2 separate regions of the Homo sapiens genome follow, and region 2 is linked to region 1. The links are contacts of gene promoters, found by promoter capture Hi-C in blood cells and fetal thymus (Javierre and others, 2016). All regions are on one chromosome and are shown on one strand. Each heading gives the region's core, a stretch centred on a gene start or on the middle of the fragment in contact. The rest is flanking DNA. Distances are from core to core; before and after follow the strand shown. Region 1 has its middle 4.8 kb from the start of ZNF69. Region 2 holds the start of FBXW9 (F-box and WD repeat domain containing 9).

The links. The method cuts DNA at HindIII sites, captures the fragments that hold promoters and counts their contacts. A CHiCAGO score of 5 or more calls a contact.
Region 2: a contact is called between the fragment with the promoter of FBXW9 here and a fragment that was not itself captured in region 1, in 1 of 17 cell types (endothelial precursors). The highest score is 5.3, in endothelial precursors.

What each region holds. Positions count from the first base shown.
Region 1 is chr19:11,879,467-11,886,417 of GRCh38, forward strand. No RefSeq gene overlaps it. Among named protein-coding and RNA genes, the nearest start is that of ZNF69, 4.8 kb to the right of the region's middle. RefSeq lists an enhancer at 1,855-2,034. The HindIII fragment of the contact is 2,118 bases long and covers 1,389-3,506 here.
Region 2 is chr19:12,694,385-12,701,190 of GRCh38, forward strand. FBXW9 (F-box and WD repeat domain containing 9) reads right to left here and starts at 2,247. Exons shown (of 10, transcript NM_032301.3): 1 at 1,789-2,247; 2 at 415-554; 3 at 210-338. The coding sequence starts at 2,197. It overlaps TNPO2 (transportin 2), which reads right to left. Exons shown (of 26, transcript NM_001382241.1): 26 at 4,817-6,806. RefSeq lists enhancers at 2,157-2,206, 2,517-2,576, 6,754-6,806. The HindIII fragment of the contact is 5,165 bases long and covers 1,152-6,316 here.

The DNA.
Region 1 (6,951 bases), core at 1,198-3,697:
CTTTCCATAAGGGGGCGAGCTTGCCAGTGACCCTAATCCCTCTCCTCATCGATGACTTCTTTGTCATCAGAGCCTTCCTCTTCATAAATTCCCACGGAATCCAAGTTTTCACGTCCCAATCGGGCTTAGTTATGATAGCCACAGGCCCACACCAGCTGCCACAGCACCCCTGTCCCATGGAAACCGCCTGACTCTCTTCTCCCCAAGCGTCCTGTCCCAGGAGCCCCCATCATCTCTGCTCCCCCGGGCTCCAGGCCCTAGAGCCGCGCTGCTGCAGAGCCCGGTTCCCAGGGCTGCTCCCTCCATATATCCACATTCATCTCCAGCTCTCCACCCTCTCTCCAACCAGCCAGGCCCGGAGGTACTGCAGTGTCACTGAACGTGCGTCCCTCAGCTGCCACCTCCACCACGATCTGGAAATCTTTTAAATGCACTTAAGTTATCTTAGAATTTTCCTTCCCCACTTTATACATAAACATAGGAGGAGAGCAGGGACTCTGCTGGTGTCTTATTCACACAATGGGATTGAGGGTGTTTGTGTCATGGAACTGATCAATGGGGTGAGAAGTAGCTGAATAACCTGCAGGGGGCAGCAGAGCCCGAGGCCGGTGACTCAACGCTGAGGCCAGTGTGGAGCCTGCAAAGGAAGGGAAAGGAGCCTTTCCTGGGGGCTTCCGGGCAGCCCGCCCTCCCCTACAGGTGGCCTCCAATTGCTCAGAGCAGCTCCAGAAGGAGTGCGGATTCCGAGAAGCTGAAGAGCCCTGGAAAGCAGAAGACCCACATGCACACGTATGTGTGGGGGTTCTGTCCTTTCTGGTGTTGTACCTCTGGAGCCTGGGGCTGTCTTCTGGGCAGGGTTTGGGGTTTGACATGCATGGGGCCACTGGGGTCAGATTTGTAAGATACAGTGAATTTCTTTAAGTTTTTCTTTAAAGATTTAGCCTGCTAACTTCCTCGTCTTTTGTTCTCAAACTCAACTTTCCTGTTCCTCCTTGCCCCTAGTTACTTTAAAACAGCCTACCCCGTTCCCATCAGCTCTAATCAATAACTCACATCTGTTCCCTTGGTTACCTGTACCCATTGTTCCCCCAAAACTGCACATCTCACATGCTCCACCTCTGTACCTCACATCCCCCTCCCCTTCTATATTTAGAAAAATATGTACAAGCAGCCAATCGGGTCAGCTCAGACTGTGCGGTCCGACCCCAGCCCATGGGGGAGTAACACAGAGATAGGGACCGCATTAAGGATAAAAACCTCCTGGTCTCCTTTGTTCTCTGTGCTCTTGTGATCTTGATTGACGTGAGTGGCACCCTTCTGCAGTAGTAAATTGCCTTGCTGAGAGAATTAAAATTTTGCCTGAGTGCTGGTTTTACTTCACGGCACCAAGCTTTTATTCCGGGAGCATTTTATATCCAACAATTCTAGGGGATCGTCCGAGATCCCCATGCTCCTTTTGGAAGAGTTCTTCAGTCACCCTACCCTGGGGAGACGCGTCCCACTGCCCCATTGCGGTGGCCTCAGGGACAGGAGATCGAGACCCACCCATTTTGACGAATAAACCCGGACTCTCAGCAACGCGGGGAAGAGAGGCTTGCAATACCGCAGCGACCAGGTAAACTCTGTGCACAGACCAAGGTGGGAAACGTTGCAGGGGCAACAAAGTAATTCTTTGGTAGTCGGAGGGGTGTGTCAGGGCATTCTGGGGGTTGAAAGTGCATGAATGGTAACAAGCACTACTGCTGTGCGGAGCGAGTGAGTCCAATCTGCGGTTCTGTGGTCACCTCACACGGCTTAGGGCAGCCCTGCGGGGGTCCTGTCACAGGTTTATACGGACCTGCCATCAATGCTAAGAGGAACCTGAAACAAACCTGCGAGGGAAGCGGCCAGAGTGGATGAAGCGAAAGAAGGGTGCAAGGAACCTCCAGCAGGTGGAGCTAAAGGATAGTGGAATTGAGCCTTAGCCACACTTCCAGTGAGGGATAGGCAAAAGACCTCCTAATATGAGGGGTTGAGCCACAAGGAACCCCCCAAATAGGCAAGAGATCCTTAATTTGAGAGGCTGAGCCACAAGGAACCCCCAAAATAGGCAAGAGATCCTTAATATGAGGGGTTGAGCCACAGCAAGCCCCCCTAGGCAAGAGATTCCTATCACGAGGGATTGAGCCTAGCCAGGACCCAGTATAGGAAATATTACAAGCAAAAAAGACAAAGTTAGCAACAAAGATATCCCCCCTAATAGTCCCCTAGGTCTCATGTTAAAACATTAGAAAGATAATGAAAAGACTAAACATAAGAAAAAGCAATTAGTGATAAAATATTGCTGTTCCATTTAGACTCAAGAACGAATCCTTGAACCCTTAGTTTTCTGGCCAGAATTTAAGTCGAATGAGGGATGGATTTGTGAACTTCTAATAGAAAATGTTGCTAGTAGAAGACCTGCCTCCTGAGAAGAAACAAATTATGCCCTATGTTAGTTGCAAGGAGTTGTCCTTTCCCCTCCTCCAAGGATTGAAAGGAGCAAGTCAAAAACTAATATTTGGAGGAAAATGAGTTGTACATGTGCCCTATTAAGATAGAACCATCTTTAATGAAAAAGACAGTGAAGGAAGGGGCTTGGGGGATCCTAGCAAAAAGAACAACTCGCAAGATCCCCTAGACCATTCCCCACCTAATACCCAACCCTTCCCCTCAGGCATCGCCCAGTAAGTCTGTTCTTCCCCAGCCTAAGTCCCTCTCCCCTAAAGAACTCCAAGCTCCTAATTCACCAGATGGCTTTTGCCAGGCTAGCAACATGAAGGATCTGCCGCAACATGTTGTCAGCGTTGTCTGGCCCATAGTGCACCCCTGCAGCGGCAAAGCCCATGCTCCTGCCCACTGGCTGGTCCAAGGTCCTGGCACTGTATTGACGGCAGCTCTGCATGACATGCGAGCCAGGCCCCAGCCTATGCCCCATGCAAACTACATTATAGGATATCTGCCTTACTTTGCTGAGGCTAAGTAATACGGGGCTTCAGCGATGGCTCCAAGCAGCCTGGCATCCCCGCAGCTAAGTTTCCTGAGCAAGAAGTAGATAATCTTTCAGCGGATATATCCACTAGCATTTATTATAGTCAGGCCAGTGTTAAAAGTGAAAATATCCACCAGAAAAGAACTCTGATTCTTTAAAGTCACCTATGTTAAAATGTACCACCAAAAAAGAATTACATGTGTATAAATATGAGGCTATTCTGTTAAAAATGATAGTTTAATGTTACTAGTAATTTGCTTAACCTAACAAGTTTCTTAACGAAAGATCCAAATCTAAAAAGGAAGCACACATGTTTAGATTTAACTGATTACCATACAAATGTCCGGCCAAACTTAAGAGAAACCCCCTTCAAAAATGATTAAAGGAAAAAGGATTCAACAGATGTTCAATAATAAATAGAGAAGTTCCTAGAGAAATAAAATTTAAAAATTGTTTAATAGTTTACCCAAATTTGTAAGCTGTTTGCACTTAGTCAAGCTTTAAAGTAACTGCAAAGGAACCATCTATACTAATCTATATTGATTCTAAATACACCTTTATCGTGGCTCATACATTTAGAAAATTTCAGACAATAATAAAGGTCAAAGCCTTGTTCATGAAGAGTTAATAACCCAAGTGTTAAATAACCTTCAGTTACCAGAAAAAAAAAAAAAGCTATTTTCCACGTCCCCAGGCACCAAAAATCCTATCTTTCAAGAGTTAAGAAAATAACCTAGCAAATCAGATAATCCGAACCAGCTGCCGTTTCTCCTGTAGGCACTGAAGGGAATTCAAATGTTATTTAAACCTCTTATGAAAGAAGTCCTATCCCACCTAAATTAGAGGACCCATTAAAGACCTCAAGCTATGTATAGCACAGTTAAAGTTTATATGTGTATGAAAATGTACATCCTTAGCCAAACAAGTCTAGAAACTTAGTTGCCATAACTCAAATGTCTTCTGTCTTCCTATTAATCCAAACTACCTCTCAAAGCAATCCACTGCCAACATTCCTACATACTTGGTTTATCTTCCACTTTCTCTTCCCTCAAAACTCACAATTTTCCAGTACAGGTGCGGCTCCTGGAGTTCCCAGTGCGTCAACACCGGCCTGAGGAGCTGGCCTAGTACTTCCCACCATTGAAACTGCAGTCTGGACAGCAGAGAAAGGATAGACCCATCACACCCGAGTCAAGAAAGCACCGCCACCCCCAAAGTCGTAGGCCATTATTCCAGGGGAAAACCCCCTCAAACTAAAGCTAAGAAAAATTTAACCTCTTACATCTATTCTATTACTCTTTCTTCTTTTCCCCTTCCAATGCTGACCACCTTGTCATTAATGTAACTCAATCAAACTCACCCCAAGTTATCACGTTTAATGCTATGTCTAGTCATACCCTGTAAAGATCTCCAAAGTCAAAGACAAGTCTCAGCCTCAGAAAAGTATCTCTGCCCCTTTAAGGTGAAAGGCCCCCCCTACCAAGACTCTTGTTCCTTAACAAATATAAGAAAACAAGTCTGTCATAGCTAGAATGATGTCCTATGGACAACCAAATGTCAAGGCTAGACCTCATCAGCAGGTGGCTGTATATCCTTAAAACCATACATTCATTTCACTAAAAAAAGCACCTCCCCAATTGCCAGTATAATCAATGTAATCCCATACAAATTTCCACCTCTACTGACCCTAAACCTACTTTAAGTCACTTCTATGGAACAGGAGCCAACTTGGCCAGCACAGACCTCATAAGATCTTTCGAAATGCGTTTTATTAATCCTTCATTCTCTTCACCCCCTTCCTTCTCTTCTCCTTCTAAGCTTTCTTCTAATCAGACTGCCACCTGTTTTCTACCTAATGATACTACTAAAGTAAATATTGTAGAAGTAAAAGATTTAAGACAAACCCTAGCAATTAAAACAGGATATCAAGATGTAAATACCTGGTTGGAATGGATTCAATATTCCGTCCGCACATTGAACAAAAGCAATTGTTACGCTTGTATGCATGGCAGACTAGAGGCCCAGACTGTTTCCTTTCCACTAGGATAGCCCTTCAGCCGACCAGGCATAGGCTGTATGGTAGCTCTTTTCCAAAATTCCACAGCCTGGGGCAACAAATCATGCCAAGCTCTCTCTCTGCTATATCCCGAAGTCCAACAACCTGCAGGCCAGCCCCCAAAGGCCATTCAGCTTCCTTCTCCTGACGTCAATTTCACCTCATGTCTCTCACGACGAGGGGAGAATCTGGCGTTCCTTAGAAGCTTAACAAGATGCAATAAGCTTAAGCCCTTCCAAAAACTTACCCATCAGTCTGCCCTTAGTCATCCTCAAGCAGATGTATGGTGGTATTGTAGTGGACCTTTACTGGATACTCTGCCAAGTAACTGGAGCGGCACTTGCGCTCTTGTCCAATTGGCGATCCCTTTCACACTGGCATTTCATCAACCAAAAAAAAAGAAAAGCCACAACACCAAAAAATAAGAGAAGCCCCTTATAAGTCTTTTGACTCTCAAGTTTACATAAAGGCCATTAGAGTCCCATGGGGAGTGCCTAACAAGTTCAAAACCTGAGACCAAATAACTGCAAGATTTAAACCCATATTTCCCCGAATAACTATTAATAAAAATGTAGCTTCGATAAATTACATCTATTATAATTAGCAGCAGTTTATGAATTACACCAAGGATCTTATCAAAAAACAGCTGACCAGTTAAGGCCTACTAGCCAAATAGCTTAAGAAAACAGAATCACTTGACTGGGCGCGGTGGCTCATGCCTGTAATCCCAGCACTTTGGGAGGCCAAGGTGGGCGGATCACAAGGTCAGGAGATCGAGACCATCCTGGCTAACATGGTGAAACCCCCGTCTCTACTAAAAAATACAAAAAAAGTATCCGGGCGTAGTGGCGGGCACCTGTAGTCCCAGCTACTGGGGAGGCTGAGGCAGGAGAATGGCGTGAACCCGGGAGGCAGAGCTTGCAGTGAGACAATATGGTGCCACTGCACTCCAGCCTGGGCCACGAAGTGAGACTCCATCTCAAAAAATAAAAACCAGAATGGCTCCAGACATGTTATTAGCCAAAAAAGGTGGAGTTTGTGTTATGATTAAAACCCAGTGTTGTACCTTCATTCCAAACAACACTGCCCCCAGTGAGAGCATAACAAAGGCCTTGCAAAGACTTACCGCTTTATCCAATGAATTAGCTAAAATTTCTGGAGTCAATGACCCTATTTCAAGATGGCTAGGAAAGTAGTTCAGTCAATAAAGAATCATAGCCTCAATACTTATTTCTTTTACAGTCGTAACAGGTGTACTTATTCTTGTTAGGCGTTGTGTCATACCATGCATCCGTAGGCTAATACAAAGGATTGTACGAACAGCATTTACTGAAACCTCCCTTAGTTCTCCTCCACCTTATTCAAGTAAGCTTTTCCTTTTAAAAGATCAAATCAAACAGCAAAGCCAAAACACGTTAAAAAAGTTTAAAGAGAAAAAATCATAAGAAAATTAAAAGGGAGGAATTGTAACATACAGTAAATTTCTCTGAGTTTCTTTTTTTTTTTTTTTTTGAGACGGAGTCTCACTCTGTCACCCAGGCTGGAGTGCAGTGGCGTGATCTCGGCTCACTGCAAGCTCTGCCTCCTGGGTTCATGCCATTCTCCTGCCTCAGCCTCCCGAGTAGCTGGGACTACAGGCGCCCACCACCACGACTGGCTAATTTTTCGTATTTTTTAGTAGAGACGGGGTTTCACCATGTTAGCCAGGATGGTCTCGATCTCCTGACCTCGTGATCTACCCGCCTCAGCCTCCCAAAGTGCTGCGATTACAGGCGTGAGCCACCGCGCCTGGCCTCTCTGAGTTTCTCTTCAAAGACTTAGCCTGCTAACTTCCTTGTCTTTTGTTCTCCAGCTCAACTTTCCTGTTCCTCCTTGCCCCTAGTTA
Region 2 (6,806 bases), core at 997-3,496, 810 kb after region 1:
TGCATAATGCATCTCCTTCATCCTCATCCTAATCACCCACTGGACAGAAGTAGAAACTGAGGCACAGAGAAGTCACACATCTCACTCAAAGTCACACCAAGGTTAGAAAAGTCAGATTCAAATCTATGCGGTCCTGTACCAAAACCTGGGGCCTTAACCAAGATGCCCTACTCAGGCCTCATACCTCCTATCCCCACCTGACTCCTCACCTCATGGGTACTATTTCGCTTAGTGCCTAAGGTCTTGATCAGAACCTGGTTGGACTCCGTCCCCAGCTGCCGCAGGTCCCACAAGTTGACGTTGCGATCTCGGGAGCCCGACAGACAGAGTGACCCACCCTGGAAAGGGAGCAAGGTGATGTTGTCAGGGCCACCCTGGCCCACCCTGCCTGGCCCCCCACAGACCCCGTCTCACCTGGAGCAGCAGCACTGAGTCAACGGAAGCCACGTGGCCTTCGGCCAGGCAGAAGTATTCGACCCAGCGCCCATCCTCTGCCCAGCGGGACAGGTGCTGCTCCAGCGCAATGCAGGCTGCCGGCCAGTCAAAGTTCTTCTCTGTGGGTTACCACGAGTAGGGTGCCCAGTGGGCAGGGACCCTAGCACCCATGCCAGCTGGCCAAGCCCAACCCTGGCTTCCAGGGAGCCCACACTACACCAGACTTGGACAGAACCCCATGGAGATCCCTACTCCCACCCCAAGCCGACCCAGGCTGTGGTCTTGGGACCACCTGCCTGCCCATTTCCCAGGCAGGTCTAGGACTACTCACTCCAATTTCCAGAAATTGGGAACTGGGGTCTCAGAACTACCTCTCCAGGCGCCATCCCCCAACCCAAACTCAGGGCAGAGCAGTCTCAGGATGTTGAGGTCTGACCTCAGGCTCAGCATAGAAGCTGGGACCTCATGACTAACCCTTCCTGCCTCAGCCATCTGAACCAGACCAAGGGGGCTGTTTCTCAAACAGTATCTGGAAACCAGGGAGCCTTGTCAAGATGCAGAATGCAAGCCCCAGATGCAGATTCTGTGATATGGACGGGGTCCAAGCATCTATGTTTATTAAGCTGTTTGGGAGAGTCTGACCTGGGGGTTGGATGGCAACACCTTGAGAATCACTGATCCCGGAGTGATCCTGATTCCTCTCTAAGCAGAATCAAAGCTTCCAGGTTAAGGGTATCAAACACCCAAGCTGTAATACATCTTGGCTTAAGGGCCTGAGGATCCAGCTGTATCAGGATCAACAATATCGATTCAAAGGTCCCAAGCTGTCTTCCCTCAGGAACCAATCAACTCAGGGCCAAGAGCCACTGTCTCACCCCTAACTGGGTCAAGGCTCTAGGGCTCAGGAGTTTTGACATCAACAGGTGCTGTCTCAGCTTCTAAGCTGGACTCAGAACCTGAGGATCCTTGGGCTCACTTTGAGCCCCAGCATAAACTCCAGAGCCTAAGACTTCAAGTCCCTGTGTCAATCCCCAATCAGGGGTCAGTGGCTTAGTACCACAAGACCCCAAGACTGAGGATATTTGGATCCTGAGTCGTCCAGGAACCACAGCCCCATGTTAGGGTTTCACAGCCTCAGGACCCCAAGTGCCTGACTGCCTCGTGGTCCACCCAGAGGTCCTCAGGGGCTTCGGCACCACCAGTAACTACCTTAGCCTCCAGCCTGAGCCAGGACAGCCACGAAGCCTGCACCAGAGGCTGCATCCGGAACACCCCATGTACCTCTTCCCCGCCCCAAGCCTGACCTGGGCGGGCGCCCCCGGCCCCCGGTCCCCGGCCCCCGGCCCCGCGCACCTTCCACCACTGGGTAGGGCGCGCGTACGCGGCGTAGCGCGCGTAGCCTCCAGGTGACATGGTCAGACACGAGGTCGCGGAGCGCGTGGCACACCCGCGACAGGACGTGGAGCACGAGGCGGGCGTCCAGGTAGGAGCAGATCTCGAGCAGCAGCTCCGGGGGAAGGCTCAGAAGGCCCGGCTCACTTACGGCCGAAACCCTGGACGCGGCCCGAGGCTCCGAAGCGCTCGGGGACGCGGCGGGTGTGGATAGCTGCGAGGGGCGCGAGAACGCCAGCCCGGATTTTGGCGGACTGAGAACGCGGGCCACGTAGGCCTTGGCCTGCGCGTCTGGGTCTGTCTCTGACTCTGGGTCCGAGTCATCGTCCCAGGTGCGGGAATCATCGCACCGCCCTAGGGGAAGCTCCATTGCGACCGGGTGGGCGCTGCCGGCCTCGCGTCTTGTCTCCTAGGCAGCACGAGGGCACTTCCGGCGCTGTCTGATGACGTTTATGCGCCCACCGGAAGCGACGAAGTCAGACACTGGCTTAATACAGAACATCGCCCCGCTTACAGGGTCTCTTGCAACTGCGTCGGCCTTAGGCTGGAAAATGCAGGTTCCTGTTTCTGCGCTTTTTAAACTAGCCGATACCGAGAGCCAGCCAACTCTAGCTAAAAACGAAACTCAAGCCAGGCGGGGTGGCGCGCGCCTGTAGTTCCAGATACTCAGGAAGGTGAAGGGGTAGGATCCCTTGAGTCCAGGAGTTCGAGACTGCAGTGAGCCATGGTTGTGCCACTGTACTCCAACCTGCGCAACATAGTGAGACCCTGTCTCTTTAAATTAGACATAAAATAAACACTGCTTTAACGAAGGCATCTGTTATATGTGACACTGAGCTTAGAAACCCAAAGGCCCCTTTCCGAGTTCAAGGAGTAGAGATTGGAACTCTTGCCTCTTTTCCCAGAGCCAGAAATATGCAGTTACACTGCAGAGGCATCAGTTAAGTGACTTTTTTTTTTTTTTTTTTTTTTTTTGAGAAAGGAACTGGGGCCTCAGAACTACCTCTCCAGACCCCATTCCCCAACCCAACCTTGGAGGACAGCAGTTCAGTCCTCCAAGCGGAGTGCTTGGCTCATTGCAACCTCCGCTTTCTGGACTCAAGTGATCCTCCACCTCGGCCCCCCAGGTAGCTGGGACTACAGGCGCGCACCACCACACCCGGCTAATTTTTGTATTCTTTTGTAAAGACAGGGTTTCACTACGTTGTCCAGGCTGGTCTGGAACTCCTGAGCTCAAGCCATCCGCCCCCAACTTGGTCTCCCAAAGTACCAGGATTACAGGCGTGAACCATCGCGCCTGGTGGAAAGCTACCTTTTTCTTTTTTCTGAGACGGAGTCTCACTCTGTCACCCAGGCTGGTGTGCAGTGGCGCGATCTCGGCTGGCTGCAACCTCCGCCTCCCGGGTTCAAGCGATTCTCCTGCCTCAGCCTCTAGAGTAGCTGGGAATACAGGCACGCGCCACCACTCCTGGCTAATTTTTGTATTTTTCAGTAGAGACGGGGTCGCACTATGTTGGCCAGGCTGGTCTCAAACTCCTGACCTCGTGATCCGCCCGCCTCAGCCTCCCGAAGTGATGGGATGACAGGCGTGAGCCACTGCGCCCGGCCTAACATCACACTTACTAAAACAGCATGTTGGCCGGGTGCGGTGGCTCAGGCCTGTAATCCCACCACTTCGAGAGGCAAGGTGGGTTAATCACTTGAGGTCAGGAGTTCAAGACCAGCCTGGCCAACAAGGTGAAACCCCTTCCTACTAAAAATACAAAGAATTGGCCGGGTGTGGTGGCAGGCACCTGTAATCTCAGCTGCTCAGAGGCTGAGGCAGGAGAATCACTTGAGCCTGGGAGGCGGAGGTTGCAGTGAGCCGAGATGGCATCATTGCACTCCAGCTTGGGCAACAAGAGCAAAACTCCGTCTCAAACAAAAAAACTGCAGGTATTTACTGCAAGCCTCTTTTGAGCCAGGCAGCTAACCAATCCACGTAGGTCATCTGCGCAGTCCTTGCTGTTTGCTCTACTTGACACTCTTCTCTCCATGGCTCTGTTCAAACATCGTCTTCTCAGTGTGGCCTTTGCAGGTCACCCTACATAAGATTTCAACCGTTTCCCCCACCATTCTCTCTGCCTTCCTGTTTTTCTCTATAGGACTTAGCACAGTTCCACTTTTTATACTCTATCCTCTCACTAGAATGCAGGACTTATTTGTTGAATATTGGATGTGTGTCAGTATTTTTAAATTTTCCCACGTTGGTCTTTGGGCCACACCAAGGTTGCAGTAAGATTTTATTTTGGCTGGGGGCGGTGGCCCACACCTGTAATCCCAGCACTTTGGGAGGCTAAAGTAGGTGGATTGCTTGAGCCCAGGAGTTCAAGACCAGCCTCAGCAACATAGCGAAAACCCCCTCTACAAAAAATACAAAAATTAGCCAGCATGGTGGCATGCACCTGTAGTCCCAGCTACTTGGGTGGCTGAGGTGGGAGGACTGGTTGAGCCAGGGAGGTTGAGGTTGCACTGAGCCATGATTGCGCCACTGCACTCCAGCCTGGGTGACGGAGCAAGACCCGGTCTCAAAAAAAAGAAAGATTTTATTCTGAAGATTGTGGTTTCCCCCCACAGCTGAAACTACTTCTCATTTGCCTGAGTAATTGTAACTAATATTAATTAAATTACCCTCGGCCTGGGGCTGGGCTGAACCTTCTATGAAAACCTTGACCCAGGGTCAGCTGATGATAAGAGTGCGGCAAGGCCTCACCCCTTACCACTCAGTTTAGAGTACGGCAGAGGGGCATCTTGAACCTGGGCTGTGACACTAATGGCTCACCCTTAGTGAGCTGAAGTCCCAGAGAATGAGCTGCACATTTCATATATGTTACAAATTTAATCTTCCATCTTTCACATTCGTCTATCTTCCCACTCTCAAGTATCCCCGGTGCCCCCGACATTTCTTCACTACCAAAGCCAAGGACACAGGAAGCCACAGACTAAGGAGTTCACAAGAAACTGATCTTTACTCAACAAAGTTCTACACAAGTGGAATCTCACGCCACCTCGGCGCCAATCCCCAGCACAGCACAGTAACAAATGGACAGACCCGGGAGCCCGCAGGGGGAAGAGGGTGAGGAGGGAAAGAGGGACTGTGGCTCAAGGCCAGTCTGGGTCCACAGCCCTGGGTAGGGGAGAAGGTTGAGAAGCTGAAACTTCATTGTGCAAAAAACAACCAAAAATAAATTAAAAAATTAAATAGTTTTTTTTTAAAAAAAAAAAAAAAAAGGAAAACGAGAAGAACCAGGCTCCCCTTCCCTGAAGGTGTTTGTATCCCCCCATCTTGAGTAGCGAGGGGTTACCAATCCCATCAGACAGCCAATCCATCCACACACCCCAAGACCCAGCAGAGGATGCTTCAAAGAACTGGAATTACCAGAAAATTAAAAGGTATTTTTAAAACTTTTTTTTTTTTTTTTAACAAATGGCTTCCAGAGACCTGCTCGAGTTTCATGGGGTGGGCGTGCAGGGACACCCAGCTAATTTATGGAATGTGTACTGAGTGCCCCTTGGAATAGATGCAGGGCCTGACCCTGACTATGGAAAGACACAGGGCTTGGATGGAGGGTCTGGCGCCCAGGAGGGATGGATGGAGCAGGCCCCAGGATGCGAGACTCCAGTCAGACTCCAAAACACAAGGGGCTCCCCAAAGAAGTAGAAAGCAGGGAAGGAAAAAAAGGGAAAAAATGCTAAGGGGGTCTGCAAGGCCCAGTTTTCTGGCCAACTGGGAAGTAACTACACCCCCACCCTCTCTAGGGGAGCCCCTTCCACCTTGACCATGTTCCCAGACTATTCCGGAAGGTTCTCTAGAATTGCTGACCCAGTCTAGTAGGATCTCTGGGCTCACTGGGTACTATGATGAGCAGGAAGTCCCAGGGAGATGGAATAGGGAACAGGGGACACACCACCTTTCCCTTCCACCAAGCCTTGGTTTTCCTTTTTGCTGGCAAAAACCTGTGTCCTCTGTCATCATCAATTAAACGCCCCTGCCCCAGGCCTTGAGTTAAAACTGGGGCCTGAAACGTGAGAAGGGGGTTTCAGAAGCACAGAGAAACGGACTGCCCCTGAAGCTGCTTACAGAGAGAGATGCTCGGGGTAGGTGCCAGTAGCTCTGGCTACACCCAGCTCTCTTCAGGAAAAAGGTCCCAACCCAGTGTCTTCAAAAGCCACTGGAGCACACAGGAAGGAGAAACGGTGACCTCTGGCCAGCCCCAGCCACTCCAGTGGTTCTCACCCTGCGAGCTAGGCTAGGATAAGGACGGAGACACCACCAGCTGAGGCTGCAACAAAGCTGGCAGGGAGTGTGTGGAGTGGGTCCCAAGCATGTGCGTGCTGACAGGGCGACTCCCAAGGTCACCATCCTCCTCCCCCCGCCCCGAGATCCCGCCTGAGGCCCCCCACCCACCCAGCCCTCCCCAGTCACCGCCAATTCCGGCAAAACAGCAGAAGCTTCTTAAACTCTAGATGCAGGTTACACGGAAGGCCTTACGGGTTAACTCAGGGGTTCACTAATTCTACTGTCTCCATGCAGTCGGGGAAATGGTGGAGCGGCTGGCCCAGCCTCGCCGGTTATGGCACCCGCACATGCGTGTGGCCATGTGTGTCCGTGTGAGTGTACGCGTCCCTACGAGGGCCCCCCTCCTGACCTGCTCCTCCCTCACCTCATCCGAAGCCGGATTCGGTCAGCTGTGTAATTCCTCCCTCCCACGTAGCTGGCCCAAGTGGGCTGCCAGAGATGACCCTATTAGAGCCCAGGGGCCCTTGCCCACCAGAAGTCCCCCCCACCTCCCCGTTTGTAGGATGAGCATGGTGGCCCCACCCACCTGCCAGGAGGGCAAGTGGACGGATGGACGGACGGACGGACGGACGGGGAAGGCATCTGGATTTGAGTCCCACTCACTCCTCCCTAACCCCCCTCAACCAGGGCACAGCGACTT